Regions from separate parts of the Homo sapiens genome. Here region 1 is linked to region 2. The links are contacts of gene promoters, found by promoter capture Hi-C in blood cells and fetal thymus (Javierre and others, 2016). All regions are on one chromosome and are shown on one strand. The core of a region is centred on a gene start or on the middle of the fragment in contact, and the rest is flanking DNA. Distances in the headings are between cores, read along the strand shown.

What was found. The method cuts DNA at HindIII sites, captures the fragments that hold promoters and counts their contacts. A CHiCAGO score of 5 or more calls a contact.
Region 1: the fragment with the promoter of DPH7 here is called in contact with the fragment with the promoter of ENTPD8 in region 2 in 4 of 17 cell types (non-activated CD4 T cells, naive CD8 T cells, total CD4 T cells and 1 more); the score reaches 6.9 in non-activated CD4 T cells.

What each region holds. Positions count from the first base shown.
Region 1 is chr9:137,577,294-137,580,292 of GRCh38, reverse strand. DPH7 (diphthamide biosynthesis 7) reads left to right here and starts at 1,368. Exons shown (of 9, transcript NM_138778.5): 1 at 1,368-1,668; 2 at 2,690-2,823. The coding sequence starts at 1,516. RefSeq lists enhancers at 963-1,022, 117-1,088 and a silencer at 1,273-1,682. The HindIII fragment of the contact is 6,073 bases long and covers 1-2,999 here.
Region 2 is chr9:137,439,502-137,442,606 of GRCh38, reverse strand. It overlaps ENTPD8 (ectonucleoside triphosphate diphosphohydrolase 8), which reads left to right and starts at 1,250. Exons shown (of 10, transcript NM_001033113.2): 1 at 1,250-1,321. RefSeq lists a silencer at 1,096-1,390. The HindIII fragment of the contact is 13,084 bases long and covers 429-3,105 here.

The sequences.
Region 1 (2,999 bases), core at 119-2,618, 140 kb before region 2:
AGGCCGGAGTCTCAGATGAAGGCGCAGGCAAGGGCCCTCAGGTGCGGACGCCTCCTCCCTGCCAGGTGCCTTGCCTGCCTCCCTGTGCTCTGCACAGCAATGGCCCTGCAAGTCTTCTGCATCAGCTTTCTCTTCTGCGGACTCCTGCTCCTCTGGGTCAGGGCCCACGCCTGCTGCTTCTGAGAGCCCCTGTTTGTTAAGGATGCTCTCTGAGGTGCTGGGGTCTTCAGTCCATTGTTTTTTGGGGGGCACAGTTCAACCTGTAACGGCCCAAGGGGTTCTTCCTGCCCGCTGCACACATTCAGACCGTGGATTGCAATAAAGAAAAAAAGTTTAGGGCCGGGCGCAGTGGCTCACACCTGTAACCCCAGCACTTTGGGAGGCCGAGGCGGGTGGATCACGAGGTCAGAAGATCGAGACCATCCTGGCTAACACGGTGAAACCCCGTCTCTACTAAAAATACAAAAAATTAGCTGGGCGTGGTGATGCGCGCCTGTAGTCCCAGCTACTGGGGAGGCTGAGGCAGGAGAATGGCTTAAACCCGGGAGGCGGAGCTTGCAGTGAACTGAGATCGCGCCACTGCACTCCAGCCTGGGTGACAGAGCAAGACTCCGTCTCAAAAAAAAAAAACAAAAAAATTAATAGACACGGGCCGGCCAGGCCACATGTGAGATGGAGTTCGTCCTCAGATCATCTTGTCCAAAGCTCCTAGGTTAGGGGTTTTTTCAAAGGCAGTTTTGGGGGAGGGGGGCGGCGGCCAGGCGACTGGTGCTGATAATCATAGGGGTCGGAGCCGTCCACCTGCTGAGCCGCTTCTGGGGGGTCCTGATGCAGCCACGGGTGTCAGACAAGCAAAGACCCTGGAAGGCGGTCTCTGAGGGGCAGCTCCGCCATGGCGGGTTCACAGGAGGCAGGCAGAGCGCGCCTGCGGCCTCGGGGTGCTGGGCTTAGTGGGGCGCGGGCTCCTCATCAGCTTTACGAAGGCGTTGATTCCGGGGCAAGGCCTGTCATGGAAACTGCAGCCTAAATGTTAAGTCAGCGCGGCCCGATGGCCAGGAGTAACCGGGAGGGCGCCACGGGGTGCGCTACCGCAGCTCGCTGTTGGGGTTTTTCTCAGTGATAGAAATTTTGCAGAGGCGGCTTCAAACCTACGGCTCTGTCACTAACTTGCCGTCTCCAAACCTGCTTTGTGGAGGAGCGGATTTCCCGAAGCCTTCGGTCTCTACGGCCCCGCAGGGAGCAGCGCGTCTGACGCCTGAAGCCCGCCGCGGTCAGCCGGCCGACAGGGGGCGTGGGAGCCTGGCTTCCCAGGGGCGTCCACGGAGGCCAAGGCCCTGCCGGATGTCCCGCCCCGGCACCCCGGAAGGAGTCGCGAGAGAGGCGGCCCGCGCTGACGGTGTCCCTGGGGCTCTGCGCTCGTCCGGCCGGCCCCGGCCTCGCCGCCCCGCGCAGTACCCAGCCCGGCCCCGCCGACCCGCCTCTACTGCCGGCTCCGCGCCCTTCCCCGAGGGCTGGATGATGGGCTGTTTCGCCCTGCAAACGGTGGACACCGAGCTGACCGCGGACTCGGTGGAGTGGTGCCCGCTGCAAGGCTGCAGGCACCTGCTGGCGTGCGGGACCTACCAGCTGCGGCGGCCGGAGGACCGGCCTGCCGGCCCCCAGAACAAGGTGCGCGCGCCGCGGCTTCGGGAGGGGAGGGCGGGGCCGGCCACGAGGTTGAGGCCGAAAGGCGCACCGAATCGCCCAGGAGATGAAGAGGGGATATTGGCCCTTTGGCCAGGAGGTAGGCTGGAAACAGTTTAGAATCTTTTTAAAAAAATTGTTCTCGGCCGGGCGCAGTGGCTCACGCCTGTAATCCCAGCACTTTGGGAGGCCGAGGCGGACGGATCACGAGGTCAGGAGATCGAGACCATCCTGGCTAACATGGTGAAACCCCGTCTCTACTAAAAAAATACAAAACAATTAGCCGGGCGTGGTGGCGGCGCCTGTAGTCCCAGCCACTCGGGAGGCTGAGGCAGGAGAATGGCGTGAACCCGGGAGGCAGAGCTTGCAGTGAGCCGAGATCGCACCACTGCATTCCAGCCTGGGCGATACAGCAAGACTACATCTCAAAAAAAAGAAATTACTTTTTTCTGAGACAAGGTCTTGCACTGTCACCCAGGCTGGAGTGCAGCCTCGGACTCCAGGGCTCAGGGCATCCTCCCGCCTCAACCCCCTGAGTAGCTGGCACCACAGGCACGAGCCACCGCCCCCGGCCAACTTTAAAATCTTGAGAGCAGAACGTCTTCTATATACAGGTGTGGCCCAAGGGAATGGGTGGAATGTACAGTAAAGAGAAAGTGGGAATTATATCTTAACTTCTGGTGGGTACATATTAGGATCCAAATTGGGCACTGGAACAACAGGCGTAAGTCAGGACTGTCCCAGGCAAACTGGGTTCTGTGGTTACCCTAGCCATAGCTGGTCCCTGTTGGCCGGTTTAGAAGGAGCCTTCTCTACTGGGTCCAGGAGTGTTCACCTACTCATTAATAGACGTTTCTCCAGCTCAGAAAACCAGAGGTTCTCCTTCCAGGCAGAATTCCACTCCTTTAGTCATGGCAAACCTTTGAGTTCCTTGGATCCCTTTTCCCATCCTTTGGGTTCCTTCGTGTCTTGGGATAATCAGAGACTACCTCTGCATTTTTTGTAGGGTGGAATGGAAGTTAAGGAGCCTCAGGTCCGTTTAGGCCGTCTCTTCCTGTACAGTTTCAATGACAACAACTCTATTCACCCTCTGGTCGAGGTCCAAAGAAAAGATACTTCTGCAATCCTGGACATGAAATGGTATAACTGTGATAATCCCACTGGGTGTAGAATTTGTCATGAGTAGCAATCAGGGAAGCCTGATGCCTGATGCCTTCAACAAGACAGGCATTGCATCTCAACTTTGGATTTGTTTCTTTGCTGTCCCGCCTATCTTCCACCTGGGGAGTGCTTTACCTGGGGCTTATTTCCTTTGT
Region 2 (3,105 bases), core at 1-2,500:
TAGCCTGGGTGACAGAGCGAGACTCCATCTCAAAAAAAAAAAAAAAAAAGGACAACTTCCCAGACTCATTTTATAAGCCCAGCATTATCCCCATACAGAAACCAGGACTAAAAAAGAAAACTATGCAACTTTGTTGAACACAACTGCAAAAATCCTCAACAAACACATTTGACTCTTATGACCCATGGCAGCTAGTGTATAAAGTTGCTGCAAACACTGAATTAAAGAATATGCTAAACTATTGCTCCTAAGGGAAATGCAAAGTTCTGTTCCTGCAAGCTTCTGGTCACATTTTTGTTAAATGATCAATATATTAATAAAACCTTCTTTTATGTGTATTTTTGTTTAAGGGCACCTTACTTAATATGTATTGTATCACTAACATTGAACTCATGGCCAACAGCGCTAACTCTTGCACGAATGAAGCTTATCCAATGTGTGTTTTCTCTGTAAAGTGCATCTCAGCCTTCTTGCATTTCTGCACTATGCTGAGACGCCATTATAAACAGTGAAATCACCAAGAAAAAGCACAAAAATGCACACACATGACACCAAATATGCTACCAGTAAAGAGAGTCCCGATTGAGACCCCAAGAGGGTTCTTGGATCTCACACAGAAAGGAATTCACCGCCCCCCCGCATTCCCCCACCCTATTCCCCGCCCCCCAACACCCCCAGCCCCACCCAGCCCGGCCCTGGCTCCGCGCCTCCCCCAGCCCCGCCCCGCTTCAGAGGCCCGGACCCCGACGGCGGCGGCCCCGGGACCCACGGCGAGCGGGAAAGGCAGAGTGGCTGCAAATGGAAAACGACGGGCGCCGCGGGGCTGCAGGCGCTTCCGCCCCCGCCCCGGGCCTGGACCTTCGGGGTCACCTGACTCCGACCTGCCCGGGCCGGGCGGCACGGGGGGTAAAGTCCGGGCCGGGGTCAGGAGCGCGGCTGCGGGCCGTGGGGGGCGGGGTCCCGGAGTTCTGCCCCTCGCAGCTCCAGGCTCCTCCTCAGCTTCCCTCTCCTGCCTCCCACCCCCCCGGGGGCGGGGCGACCCTGGGCACCGAGACAGACCCGCGGGTGGGAGATGCGGGGAGACCCTGGGCGGGGGACCCGAGGGTGGAGTGGGCGGGGCGACCTTGGGCGCTGGCCTCAGCCTGCGGGCCCTGGAGCCAGGTGCACAGCGCATCGCCCGAGGCTGTCACCGCCCTGCCCCGCCCACCCCAGCTGTCCTGGACCCAGGGGCAGGGAGAGGCTGGACGCCAGGTGCGCGGACACAGAAGCGTCTAAGCACAGCTTCCTCCTTGCCGCTCCGGGAAGTGGGCAGCCAGCCCAGGTGAGGGTCCAAAGGGATGTCCTGGGGGGGCTGTCCTGGTCTGGGGGGCTGTCCTGGTCTGGGGGGCTGTCCTGGTCTGGGGGGCTGTCCTGGTCTGGGGGGGCTGTCCTGGTCTGGGGGGCTGTCCTGGTCTGGGGGGGCTGTCCTGGTCTGGGGGACTGTTCTGTCTGAGGGGGTGTCCTGGTCTGGGGGGGCTGTCCTGGTCTGGGGGGCTGTCCTGGTCTGGGGGGCTGTCCTGGTCTGGGGGGCTGTCCTGGTCTGGGGGGGCTGTCCTGGTCTGGGGGGCTGTCCTGGTCTGGGGGGGCTGTCCTGGTCTGGGGGACTGTTCTGTCTGAGGGGGTGTCCTGGTCTGGGGGGGCTGTCCTGGTCTGGGGGGCTGTCCTGGTCTGGGGGGCTGTCCTGGTCTGGGGGGGGCTGTCCTGGTCTGGGGGGCTGTCCTGGTCTGGGGGGGCTGTCCTGGTCTGGGGGGCTGTCCTGGTCTGGGGGGGCTGTCCTGGTCTGGGGGACTGTTCTGTCTGAGGGGGTGTCCTGGTCTGGGGGGGCTGTCCTGGTCTGGGGGGCTGTCCTGGTCTGGGGGGGCTGTCCTGGTCTGGGGGGGGCTGTCCTGGTCTGGGGGGCTGTCCTGGTCTGGGGGGGCTGTCCTGGTCTGGGGGGCTGTCCTGGTCTGGGGGGGCTGTCCTGGTCTGGGGGACTGTTCTGTCTGAGGGGGTGTCCTGGTCTGGGGGGCTCTCCTGGTCTGGGGGGGGCTGTCCTGGTCTGGGGGGCTGTCCTGGTCTGGGGGACTGTTCTGTCTGAGGGGGTGTCCTGGCCTGGGGGGCTCTCCTGGTCTGGGGGGGGGCTGTCCTGGTCTGGGGGGCTGTCCTGGTCTGGGGGGGGCTGTCCTGGTCTGGGGGCTGTCCTGGTCTGGGAATCTGTTCTGTGTGAGGGGGTGTCCTGGTCTGGGGGGCTCTCCTGGTCTGGGGGGGGCTGTCCTGGTCTGGCGGGGGCTGTCCTGGTCTGGGGGGCTGTCCTGGTCTGGGGGGCTGTCCTGATCTGGGAGTCTGTTCTGTGTGAGGGGGTGTCCTGGTCTGGGGGGGCTGTCCTGGTCTCAGGGACTGTTCTGTGTGAGGGGATGTCCTGGCCTGGGGGACTCTCCTGGTCTGGGGGGGCTGTCCTGGTCTGGGGGGGCTGTCCTGGTCTGGGGGGCTGTCCTGGTCTGGGGGGGCTGTCCTGGTCTGGGGGACTGTTCTGTCTGAGGGGGTGTCCTGGTCTGGGGGGCTCTCCTGGTCTGGGGGGGGCTGTCCTGGTCTGGGGGGCTGTCCTGGTCTGGGGGACTGTTCTGTCTGAGGGGGTGTCCTGGTCTGGGGGGCTCTCCTGGTCTGGGGGCACTGTCCTGGTCTCGGGGGGGCTGTTCTGGTCTGGGGGGCGCTTTCCTGGTCTGAGGAGCTGTTCTGATCTGGGAGGCTGTTCTGGTCTTGGGGGTCTTTTGAGTGTGGGAGAGGTTGCCCCAACCTCTTTGCCTACCTGGAGGCTCAGGCCTGGGGGTCTCAGGTGGCTACATCTTCTGGGTGTGGAGTCCCTGTGTTCCTGGCCCCTGTCACCTGTTTGTCCCTATGAGGTGGCCTATGGCCTGGGTGCTGGTTGGGGACACAGGCTGGGCCCTGTCTGGGCTGGACCGGCCTCCTGTCCTCTCTGAGCCTCTGTCATCTACCCTCCTTAAAATGGGCTTATATCCCCCGGACATACAGAATTGCGTGAGGACCCCACAGCGTGTCCCACTTTCCACGTGCCCAGGAGCCCCAGGT